4 separate regions of the Homo sapiens genome follow, and regions 1, 2 and 4 are each linked to region 3. The links are contacts of gene promoters, found by promoter capture Hi-C in blood cells and fetal thymus (Javierre and others, 2016). All regions are on one chromosome and are shown on one strand. The core of a region is centred on a gene start or on the middle of the fragment in contact, and the rest is flanking DNA. Distances in the headings are between cores, read along the strand shown.

The links. The method cuts DNA at HindIII sites, captures the fragments that hold promoters and counts their contacts. A CHiCAGO score of 5 or more calls a contact.
Region 1: a fragment that was not itself captured here is called in contact with the fragment with the promoter of TASL in region 3 in 1 of 17 cell types (total B cells); the score reaches 5.2 in total B cells.
Region 2: a fragment that was not itself captured here is called in contact with the fragment with the promoter of TASL in region 3 in 2 of 17 cell types (total B cells and naive B cells); the score reaches 13.3 in total B cells.
Region 4: a fragment that was not itself captured here is called in contact with the fragment with the promoter of TASL in region 3 in 1 of 17 cell types (naive B cells); the score reaches 5.5 in naive B cells.

Annotation. Positions count from the first base shown.
Region 1 is chrX:31,249,815-31,252,999 of GRCh38, reverse strand. All of the region lies in intron 63 of DMD (dystrophin), which reads left to right. Among named protein-coding and RNA genes, the nearest start is that of FTHL17, 180 kb to the right of the region's middle. The HindIII fragment of the contact is 556 bases long and covers 1,016-1,571 here.
Region 2 is chrX:31,228,149-31,231,119 of GRCh38, reverse strand. All of the region lies in intron 63 of DMD (dystrophin), which reads left to right. Among named protein-coding and RNA genes, the nearest start is that of FTHL17, 160 kb to the right of the region's middle. RefSeq lists a silencer at 1,887-1,936. The HindIII fragment of the contact is 2,508 bases long and covers 23-2,530 here.
Region 3 is chrX:30,576,249-30,579,509 of GRCh38, reverse strand. It overlaps TASL (TLR adaptor interacting with endolysosomal SLC15A4), which reads left to right and starts at 1,744. Exons shown (of 3, transcript NM_025159.3): 1 at 1,744-1,872; 2 at 2,644-2,758. RefSeq lists an enhancer at 1,513-1,722. The HindIII fragment of the contact is 8,514 bases long and covers 1-2,379 here.
Region 4 is chrX:31,267,807-31,270,722 of GRCh38, reverse strand. All of the region lies in intron 62 of DMD (dystrophin), which reads left to right. Among named protein-coding and RNA genes, the nearest start is that of FTHL17, 200 kb to the right of the region's middle. The HindIII fragment of the contact is 3,167 bases long and covers 1-2,916 here.

The sequences.
Region 1 (3,185 bases), core at 44-2,543, 670 kb before region 3:
TTTTTTTTTTGAGACGGAGTCTCACTCTGTCGCCAGGCTGGAGTGCAGTTGCACGATCTCATCTCACTGCAACCTCCACCGCCCGCGTTCAAGCGATTCTCCTGCCTCAGCAGCCTCCCGCCACCATGCTCAGCTAATTTTTGTATTTTTAGTAGAGACGGGGTTTCACCATGTTGGCCAGGATGGTCTCGATCTCTTGACCTCATGATCCACCCGCCTCGGCCTCCCAGAGTGCTGAGATTACAGGCGTGAGCCACCGCTCCTAGCCTATAATCATATTTGTAATAATTGTACTTTATTTGTGTAGCACTTTACAATGGCGAAGAGTTTTCAGAAATAACCATATTTAATCCTCACACAGCTATAGAGTAGGTGGCATATGACCTGGATTTTCTATCAATTTCAGTTTCAGATTTTTTGTCCTGTCATCCCTTTGAGTGTCCTTCCAGTTTTTGATTTGGGAAATAATGCTACCATACCGGTGGATGGGGCAACTTTTCCCTTCTTTCCATTTGGACTTGAGCAGACTGAGACTCAAGACTTGATTTGATTTATACTCACTATGGTAGAAGATAAGGAACCAAGTCCAGAACACACATTTTACAAACTCCGAGTTCTCTGTTCTCAAAGGAACATCCATTACTCTTAGCATGATTTATAAAACTGCTTTATCGGCATAATTAAACTGGAATCCATATGACATTCTTTATTCCCTAGCTGACAAAATTAGCACAGGAGATTTACTCAAATTTGTTATTAAGGCTGTTATAAATGTTCTTCCTTTACTATTCAGCTTATAAAAGAAAAAAGAAAAATAATCTGCTCTTTTAACTTTGATTAGGATCCATTGACTTTCCCCATTTGTAAAATAGAAATGTAACTTCCAAATCAAAATTTATGGCATTTTAATGGACTGTTCTAAATATTATAATATTTTTTCTTGTTCAAATAACTTGATTTAAAGCTTCTAATTGAAGAACATAATAGATATTTCTGAATTGCATCTCTCCAAGCTTATTTCAGAAGGAAACTCAAAAAGAATTGTTCCTTAGACTTTGACTGGTTTACAGTTTTAAAAGAGCTGCCAAATTGTAGTTTACTGATCTAAATAAGAGGAACATTAAGGTTACACCTGCAGCTAGAAGAAAAGTGCTGGATATGTACAATTTTATGTAGCTGGATCTGCAGAAGATGATTTTTGCACACAGAGTAAAGGCATCTAAAAACGTGTCTGCTCTTATTCAGACATTTCCAATATTTCTTTTTTAAGCCCACAAGTCTGATTACCTCTGTATGTCTCTTGGGAGCTGCAATTTTGCTGGAAAGAGATTCAGAACAGTCAGAGCACTCACATAAAATAGATAGTTTTTAAAGTCTGTACCCTCTACGGTAGTAATAAAATGACCTAAAAATATTCTGAAAGTCTCTCTTATGACATAGTGGATGAATCATTAGCTTATTTATGAATTGGTGATATTCTGTGGGAATGTTTCAAAATTTGCTATTCCACAAAGCGTTCATCGCTTGCATAACTCCAGGAAAGTCATTACACCCCCTCATAAATAGAAGCTTATATAACGGAGACAAATGTTGCTTATATTGATATATTTACATACAGATTTCTTTACCAAGCATTAATTTTGGTAAGAAAGTGATTGTTTTTATATTTTACTTTCTTGGTCTGTAAAGAGGCTATCACTTTAAGGCCAGGCATGGTGGCACGCACCTGTAGTCCCAGCGCTTCCAGAGGCTGAGGCAGAAGGATCCCTTGAGCCCAGGAATTTGAGTCCAGCCTGGGCAATATAGCAAGACGTTGTCTTAGAAAAAAAAAAAAAGAAGCTATCACTGAAGAGCAGTGCTTCTCAAACTGGTGAAGGGCCAGGTTTTTGTTGGTGGTGGGTTTTTTTTTTTGTTTTTTTGAGACAGAGTCTTGCTCTGTTGCCAGGCTGGAGTGCAGTGGTGCGATTTTAGCTCACTGCAAACTCTGCCTCCCGGGTTCAAGCGATTTTCCTGCCTCAGCCTCCCGAGTAGCTGGGATTACAGGTGTGCACCACCACACCCAGCTAATTTTTGCATTTTTAGTAGAGACGGGGTTTCACCATGTTGGCTAGGATGGTCTCGATCTCTTGACCTCATGATCTGCCAGCCTCCGCCTCCCAAACTGCTGGGATTACAGGCGTGAACCACTGCACCCAGCCGCGGTGGTGGTTTTTAACATACTACACATCACAGATTTTTAGGTGGTGCTAATGAAACTGACAAGTATGCATTCACACCACATGTAACTCAACAGTCAAGTTCAACAACACTTGACCTCGTCTGTACCCTGCTCCATGAGATGAATTCATTGATCATGAATTTGGATGTCATGGCAATGTCAAATTGCTATAGAAGTTACTTAACACACTGTCCATATCTATGCTTGTGAAAGACCATATTTTGAGTAGCACTGTTCTAGAGCACTTAATTTTTGAAAGTATAAATGTAAACTCAAATCAAGTGACTCAGGTCGGGGGAGGATAATTAACCAAACAGGAACACCTGAAAATGTTATTTATGCGGTTTAATGTTTTGCCAGTTGAGTCAAGTTCAGGCAGAGGAGGGATCTATTTTCTTTCCCACTTGGTAGCTCTCCTTAGCAATTGTTTTAGAAGACAAAGCATAGAAATCATTGTGTTACAGGAAGGAACCAGAGATTAAGCGGCAGAGCCACTGCTGCCTAGTTTAATGTCTCTCGCACCCCCTATAATTAAATATAATGTATATAATGTGATAAGTTTAAAATACAGGTTTGCTTTTATCTAGAATATAAACTGTGATATATGCACTCTTTATGGGGTGCATTCAGTGGGGGAACTAATTGATTATACTGTGACTTTCCTATTGTCACTTTATGAGTTTAGGTTTGGAGGCAATGTTTTGCAGCAACAAAATTGTTCATTGACTTTGAGGCTGGATTTAAATTCTGATTCTGTCACCAGTTCTCTGTGGTCAAAAAGGAAGCCACTAATAATTTTAAACCTCAGTTATGTGATGTATTAAATAGTTATGATGAGACTTATCTTGTGTTGTGAGGATTAGAATGACATATGTAAGGTAACAGAATGTCTGATGTAGTAACTGCTCAAGGAATTATAATTGCTATTAGTGATATGCATTATTATTATTAGTTATTATTATCATAT
Region 2 (2,971 bases), core at 27-2,526, 650 kb before region 3:
TGATCCTTCCGCTCTTGAAGCTTGATTTAAAGGAGCATGGCACAGTGGTGCCTATATGAGTCAGCCCTCCATTATCTGGGGCAGAATTCAGGCCCCAGAAATGGTACTTAAGATACACAGTTCTCCCCCAGAAAACTTTATATCGGCCATTTGTTACAGAAACTGCTTTCTCAACAAACCTTTTACCAGGGCAGCTAACAATGAGCAAAACTAATTTGAATTTCAACTCTGCCATTATTACAGTGTTGCTAAGAAGTAGTGAGATTCTGCTGAGGAAGGCCAAGCAAGAGGAGGGAGCCAGAAATGCCTTAAACAATCCACAGCCAGGATTTTGTGCTATCTTTTATTTCACAGTTGAACTTCTCAGTATTTTTTGGTTCATAACCTTTTTCTCTTTTCCTCAATTCTGAGTCTTCCACATTTGTGCCATACTAGGTACTTTATTGCTTCTCTCCCTTTTTTTTTTTTCTTGAGATGGAGTCTCATTCTGTCGCCCAGGCTGAAGTGCAGTGGTGCGATCTCAGCTCACTACAACCTCCACCTCCTGGGTTCAAGCAATTATCCTGCTTCAGCCTCCTGAGTAGCTAGGATTACAGGTGTGCACCACCATGCCTGGCTAATTTTTTTGTGTTTTTAATAGAGACGGGGTTTCACCATGTTGGCCAGGCTGCTCTCGAACTCCTGACCTCGTGATCCGCCCGCCTCGACCTCCATAAGTGCTGGGATTACAGGTGTGAGCCACCACACCTGGCCCTCTCCTTCATTTCTTAGAAGAGTTTTACAAAGTCATTGGTGATAAATAAGTAATACCATTTCACATCTGGAAACATAACTTGATAGTAATTATAAATTCACAGACTGTACTTTCTGTACTTATCTAAGTATGAATGCATAATTCCTGTTTATCTGTGTGTAGGTTTATTTTTCCCCCATTTAAGTAAAGCTCTATGTTGATGATGAGGTTTTTACGAGTTGAGATTTTAAGAGGCCTCAAATATATCTAAAAAATTATAGACCAAGTATGATGTGTTAGTGTTCCTCTTCTCTCAGCTAATTCTTTAAAGATATGTTCCAGAATTCCTGGTCTGTTCTTGAAGATCTCCCAATAATTCTAGACTTCTGAAGCCTGGATATTTTGGCTTAATTTGCTTTCAAGACAGACTGGATTTAAATTACTCAATTTGTCTGAAGTCTCATTAAGATCCAAGGTTCTTGTCTGTTCTAGTGAGTTTGAGCTGGCAAGAATAATACTTGTCATCTGAAAAGTCCATTAGAATCCTTTGGAGGAGTGAGACTGGAAAATTGGAGACATATTATTATATTTTAAAATATGCCACCTTTCTATAATAGGAGTATGTGGGGAGACTGCCTTGTTTTGGCTTCTTGGGAAAATTTGGAAAATTAGTAAAATAGGCAGGCAGTAGTAGTTCAATGCGTATTGTATGCCAAACACTGAATTTAGAACAATACTCCCCCAAAAGCATATGTGCTCTAAATTTTATTTTTCACTTACCACCTGGGAGATTTGGATTAAATTTCTTCTGGGAAATAGAGTTGGTATGAAGAAACAAAGACCACTATACCAATTTATCTGTTGGAATAATCATTTAGCCGTACAGCTCTTTCCACTCATAAAGTTAATGAGGTCATTATTGTTCTTTCTAGCTAATAGATAGGCATATTGAAACCTTAGGCCTTTCCAAAAAGTCTCCATAAGCCATTGGAAAGATAGACTAAAACACTCCTTGTTTTAAATTCTAGACCTCAGTTCAGTCAGAGATAGTAGGATTTTTGCAGTATTATTAAAAAGACAGAAACCAGCTATAAAATTGAAATGAAGGGACTTAATGTTTTTTTTCTGTAATATCTTTGGAATGCTTCCATGGCTTTAAAATGCTGAGGTGTTTCTCACTATTTTTCAAAAGCATGTAACATGTAGATATGTGACGCAAACTTGACCAGTTGTTCCTCTTTTCTGGTGAATTTTGACACCTGCTACTATTACACAGAGTAAAAGTGAAAGTCATAAAACAGAAATACTTACCAAAGTCAAGAAAAATGCATAGACTAAACAAAGGGGCAAGAGAAGCCTATTACTTGTTTCATGTTTCAAAATAAAAGATGAATGGCCTATCACTTCAGTAGTTGGAAATTCAACTTGAGAAGGTAGGTGGTTTGATGTTTGCCCTTGTTCCTTACGTTTCTAGATTTCTCTATTTATAGGCTAGAACCAGCCCTGGATAAAATAATACAAGTTATGAAGAGAAATGTGCAGTTCAGCATTTTTACCCTTCTGAAGTGCGCTTTCTCCCAGCTGCCATGGAAACATGGCGTAACTGGTTTCTTGGATAGTCTCACTCCTCTTGAGTTCCGGCTGTGAGAGCTAGTGAGCTCATTACAACTTGGATCAGAGTCCTGGAAAGTCAGCTCCCAGGGAAAGTGGAGGACAGTCTCTCATGGGGCACGGGAATGGGGGGCTTTAGCTTTATTAAACTGCATACATACTTTCACTACACAGTCATCCCAAGCTTTAGCCCAGGACAGTGTCACATTGTTCACAGCTGTATTGCATCTTGAGGTTTCTGTGTGCATCCTACACACTTTCCTAAGGCAGAGACTTATCTCTTCCAGCTGTAAGCCGGAGGGAGTGGTGCTGCAGACTCCTAGCAACACATGCGGACTCAAACAACACAGGCAGTTAACTCTCTTGAGTAGTAGACTTGTAGGGCACCAGAACTCCGTTGCAGTTCACTGACAGTTACCAGATATACATTTGTATGGCTTCCGTAGCATTGTGATGGAAGCTAAACGTTTGCCCTGCTACTTTCTTTTTTTTTTTTTTTTATTTTTTTATTTTTTTTTTATTATACTTTAAGTTTTAGGGTACATGTGCACATTGTGCAGGTTAGTTACATATGTATACATGTGCCATGCTGGTGCGCTGCACCCACTAACTCGTCATCTAGCATTA
Region 3 (3,261 bases), core at 495-2,994:
AAACTAGTTAGAAAGAATGAATAAGACAAAGTATTTAATAGCACAACAGGGATACTGTAGTGAATAATAACTTAATTTTACATTTTAGTATAACTAAAATAGTATAATTAGATTTTTTGTAACACAAAAGATAAATGTTTGAGGGGATGGATACCCCATTTTTCATGATGTAATTATTATGCATCATATGCATGTATCGAAACATCTTATGTACCCCATAAATATATACACCTACTGTATACCTACAAAAATTAAAATACAAAATTTTAAAAAGAAATATTCTATTACATAAGCATGTATATACATATATTCCTTAAAAATACAAACTGGAAAATGAGTTCTTGCTAAACAATATATGTTAGAGATCTTTTTTTTTCTTTTTTTTTTTTTTTGAGATGGAGTCTCGCTCTGTCACCCTGGCTGGAGTGCAGTGGCACAATCTCAGCTCACTGTGACCTCCACCTCTCGGGTTCAAGGGATTCTCATGCCTCAGCCTCCGAGTAGCTGGGATTACAGGTGCCCACCACCACGCGTGGCTAAGTTTTGTATTTTTAGTAGAGACAAGGTTTCACCATGTTGGCCAGGCTGGTCTCAAACTTCTGACCTCAAGTGATCCACCTGCCTCGGCCTCCCAAAGTGCTAGGATTACAGGCGTGAGCCACCGCACACAACCTACATAGGATTTTAAGTATGCATACGTTCTCATTTACTTGGCCAATATCTTATTTATGGATATAATTTTTTCTAGTCATTTATTTTCTCAAGCAATGCTGCAACAAATATCTTTTCACATAAGTCTTTGTGTACAAGTGTAAACATATAGCTTGGACAAATTTATAAAAAATACAATTGTTGGGTCAAAGGGTATGAATATTTGTATTTGAGAGATACTGGGAAATTGCCCTCTAAATATGTTTACAATCTCATCAGTAGTGTTTGAGAGTGCTTGTTTCTTCACAACTTTGCCCACACCATGTATTATTGTTTTGACCTTCGGTATTTGGAGAGGGAAAACTTTTTTCTTTTTTTTTTCTTTTGAGACGGAGTCTCGCCCTGTCGCCCAGGCTGGAGTGCAGTGGCGCGATCTCGGCTCACTGCAAGCTCCACTTCCCGGGTTCACGCCATTCTCCTGCCTCAGCCTCCCGAGTAGCTGGGACCACAGGCGCCCGCCACCGCGCCCGGCTAATTTTTTGTATTTTTAGGAGAGACGAGGTTTCGCCGTGTTTGCCAGGATGGTCTCGATTTCCTGACCTCCTGATCCACCTGCCTCGGCCTCCCAAAGTGCTGGGATTACAGGCGTGAGCCACTGCGCCCGGCCGAGAAAATTTTTTTCATTTACATTTTTAAAAATTATAAGTACCATTGAGAAATAATACTTCTTAAAAATTATAGATTAGTAACGAAACAGAATTTCCTAAAGTCATATGTGACTTTGGCTTTCTTTTGGGTGAAGGATCCCAGATAATGTACTTTTCTAGAAAGGAAATTTAATTCTGTTGCTAGGGTTCTTACAAAATGTGTAACCATAAACTATTTTAATAAGAGACAGTTTCGTAGATAGGTTTCATTTTTCGAAAAAGGGGAAGAAACACCATTCTGTGGCTTGATGTGGCTTTGTCAGTTACTGCCTCCCCACCTCCCGGGACTTCCCACTGCCTCTTTAGCACAAATCGGACTTGAACAAAAACAACTCTTTTTCCATGGGACCAATTATAAAAAGAATGGCTTTGCACTGAGCAGCTCAGTCTACTGGTCTCATCAGTGAAAGGCTTGTGAAAATTTCTGGAAAGAGCATTGGCTGGCTTGTTCATCTCTCTGTTTGGTCAGTTGCTGTGTTTCTGCCGGATCAGATGAGCAGATTGGTTAGTGAAGGTAAGAAAAAGAAAGCAAAGGACCCTAGAACTCCGCTATTATTTTTTGTCATCTGTCTTCTCACGCTTTCTTAGCCCTTTATCACGAGAGCGCTGATCCATTCTTATGACATCTAAAATGCTTTTCTAGCTTACCATATCAGAGACAAGTGGGAGTTTAAACAAGCATTCAGTGGAGTTGAAAAATAAAGAGAAATTAAGCCCAATACTTCCTTTCCTTACCTCCTCGTGTCCACATTCTAAGCATTTCTAAAACACTTATATTTTTACCTACAATTTTTGACTGATCTGAGCAAATATTTATTGTGTTATTTTTGCAGTCCTCTTTCACTAATTGCCACACTGGTTTAGCTTCTGCATTTTTAAAAGAAGGCCTAAAAACCTAAGCAGGGTTTTGCAGGGACAACACAGCTCTTGAATTCAGTTACGGTGATGCAGTTTTAGAGACGAAAACAATCACAGTCCTTTCCAATTGGATTTGACTCTCAATTATTCAGTTCAGCAAGCTTGTGATAGTGTTTTTCTGTGTGGCAGGATGTATTCAAAATGAATGCGATCTATAGTGAGGATGCTTTTCGACTTTCATCTGGGTGATTTGGGGAAAGCTTCCCTTTTGGTATTAAAGATAGCGCATGTACGAGTGGAGTTTTGTTTGAATTATCTTTAGACTCGCTCAAACATTCTTTGTCTTGCGCATATGAATCTGTGCTTAAATATAGACCTGGTTTGGACAGAATATTTATATTGATATTTTATAACATTTCTTGCATAGGTCAGTGTGAGAAGAAGATTGTTTCTGAGCTTGAGAAGCTTCTGGAGGATTGAAGAGTATTTGAAGTCTGTGTCAAACATCCATATCATAAGTGGAATTTTGGAGATATTCAAAGGTAGTACACTAATTCTATTATCTCAGAGCAAAATGATGTTTGAAGTATTTATATCAAGTCACTGAGACATTTCTCATCTCATATGTAGTGATTATTTTAGATATATAAGATATTGTCCCTCTAGGCTCTTAATAAACATTATACAATGTAAATATGCCTTCATTAACTAAATATGGTTTTTTCCCCCTCCCAATTTTTATTTAGAAATGTTTCAAATCTATATAAAAATTGAAAGAATAGTACAACGAACACCCATATTTTCATCATGTGTATTAATCAGTGGTATCTTTTTGCCACATTTACTTTCTCTCTCGCTTTGTCTTTCTCTGTCTCTGCCTGTCCTTTTCTCTCTCTCTATATGTGTATATATATATTCACACACACGCATGCACATATGCACAGTTTTTTCCCTGAATGGTTTGAAAGTATGTTGCTGACTTTAGGACACATGTCACCCCTAAATTCTTGAGCATGTATCTCCTAAAAATAAAGGCAGTCTTCTA
Region 4 (2,916 bases), core at 89-2,588, 690 kb before region 3:
TGCTTTAATTCTTTCTTCCTTAAAAAGCTCCCTCATACCTTTCAGGATACAAGTCAAACTCCAGATTGTCACACTAAGCCCTTTCCAGTTTGCCCATTTCTCTAACCCTTATCTTGACATTCTCTCCAAAAGATCAAGCAGACCGTTGAAGCTCTTGTAAAGAACAAGCTGGTTGCATCCTTTTTACCCTCACATCTGCTGTTGTCACCATCATAATTGTTGATATGCCTTTACCCTCAAAAGGCCAGAAGCTCTTTGTGGGCCTACAGAGGAGGCTTCTCTGAATATTTATCCAATGACTGAGTCTCATCTGCTTTTTAGCCCCAGAGTGGGGGGATCTGACTTTCTCCTCTATCAGTAGTCCCCACTCAGCATCAAGTCTATTGCCCCAGAGGGTGGCTTTGGCTGGATGGGTCTCAGTTTGGTCAGGGTCCTGGGAGAAACAGATGGTACATTCAAACGGAACACTTGAAGAGAGTATAATGAAAAGGCTATTTACAAGGCTCTAGGCAGGCTAGGAGAAAAAAAAAAAAACAAGGAATGGTAAACTTTTGCCCAAAGGGATAAAGGGAGGAATGGTTTGCGTAACTGGTGGAATGCTATTGCTGTAGGAAAGGACTGGCCAACAAGACTTGTGGCTGCAGGTCAAGGAACTCAGCAGCTGCCAGGCCAGAGATCAGTAGGAGGGAACCTGAAGAATAAATACCCAAACATCACCTTCCTCCTGTCCTTTCCTCTCCTTCTGTAGGCCTTTCATCACTGCCTCCCAATTGGCTGAAAGCAAAAGGAAGCCAAACGGCAGGAAAGCCTGATTGATGTCCCCACAGAGGTCCAACCTCCTGGGCCACAGAGCAGAATGGAGAAGGACAAAGAATAGAGATGGATGGGAGAATGGGGAAGCATCCTGCACAGTCCCTTAGGTCAGAGATGCCCTTATTCTCTAAAGATACCCTCAAAGTTTAAGTGGTTCAAAGACCAGAGTTTTGGCTACGGGAAAATGTACTGGGTCGCCTTCTTTGACCTCATCCCATTTCATTTCTTCTTTATCTCTATTTCTAGCAAATTTACTCTTCTCTGCTCTGAGCCATCAGTGAGATTGTCTATGAGTATACTAGAAAAAACACAGACCTTTCTCACAGGAAAAGAAGCCATGTCTCTTCATGGCAGCATAGCAGAATAGCTAAGCGCATGAGTCTTCGAGCTGGATTCCCCAATTCCAATCCTTGCACCATTCTAGACAGTGGTACTGGGAACAAGTAGGTCATGGCTGATTCTGAAGTCAAAATTTTAGCTGAAGTTTGTTCTGGTAGCAGAGCTTCAGGCTCTTTTCATGTCCGTGGTTCATATCAAAACAGTAATAATAATAATAATAATATAATCAGAAGGAGGAGAAGAAGAAACATCTACTATAAACAAACAATATATTATCATACATGGCATCACTACATAATTTACATATGACACGAAGGTATATCAATTATGTTCTTTTCCAAATGCTTTCCTCTAATAAGCAAAATTCATAATCTGACTGCAATTGAACAACAAAACAGTCTCTGTGATGCCCGCGTCATTTCTTAATACTTTCAGTATTTAATTATAATATGACGTCAAGATTTGGGAACAAGTCTTCAAGTGCCTATAACTCCAGTCTAAAAAAGAACTTAAAGATGTATTTTTGAGGATTGCCATCTGTCAATTTTTTTAAAAAGTCTGAATAGTGATTTCTTATTCCATTCTTTTTTCTTGTCAACAGATTATTCTTAGTAGTTTTCTAATTGGACACTGAGAAAAGAGACTTAAGCATTTATAGAGAAGCGTGTCAGAACTCCTGAATTTTGAGCAGGTAATTTAAAAGTGTAAAACAAACAAACAAAAAACAGGAAAGGAAGAGAGTGACAAATGTCTTACTATCCAGGTGTTACAAATCCTTAGTTTATCGATTTGTAATATTTACAAATGTCCATGCTCTGAGGCTTCTGTCTTTTCGTTGAAATAAACATAAACAGTAGTTAAGTGATTTGCCACACTGACACAGAGATTGGTGTCTCTGATTTACTGCAAAGGGCACTACTTCCTCATTACAGGACACTAATCCCTCTTCCCCAAGGATCGGAGCAGACCTAGAATATACTATTAGACCAAGGGACAACTTCAGCCAAAGCAAATCTTAGTGTGCCCCCCTCAGACCGTAATAGCAGCTGCCTCCACAACTCACTAGCTTAAAATTGCTAAAGGGCAACACTAAGTAATCTCAGTGTATGAGCCAGAATGCCAGAAGAAGTGCCATATTTGCTTAAAAATAGCAATACCGATCATACTTACATGCACATATCTTTAGTGATAACATTTACCTTTATATTTGGTTTGTTAAAGGTAATAAAGAATCCTGGCATTCCCTTTTGCTTTTGTCCAGATACTTTATTTTTGCCTCTTTTGCCATGCTATAGCATTAGATAAAGCAAAACGGGTGTGCTTCCACCTAAAACATTCTAGGGGGAAAAATGTTGAGCAGAAAAGGATTATTTCAAAAGAAGCCGGATATGGTGGCATGCACCTGTCATCGCAGGCACTTGGAGGCTGAAGTGGGAGGATTGCTTGAGCCCAGGAGTTGGGAGACCAGCCTGGGCAACACAGTGAGACCCCCATCCCTTAAGAAATAAATTTTAAAAAGGGGACCACATTTAAACTGTAGACCGAAGTGGAATGAATCAATCGGAAAGGAGAGTGGAAAGCAAATGTTTGAAAGAAAATAAAAAGAAAAGCAAGCCAACAAAATAAATGGACAAAGAAGGGCAGTGAAAATATCACTAACAGTTTATCGTAAGATGCTCTTTGGATGCTAATCTAAGGTGTTATGTGAAGTTTGCAGAAAATTCTTGTGCTAATGAAGGCTTTCTTCTTCTTTTGAGTATTTCC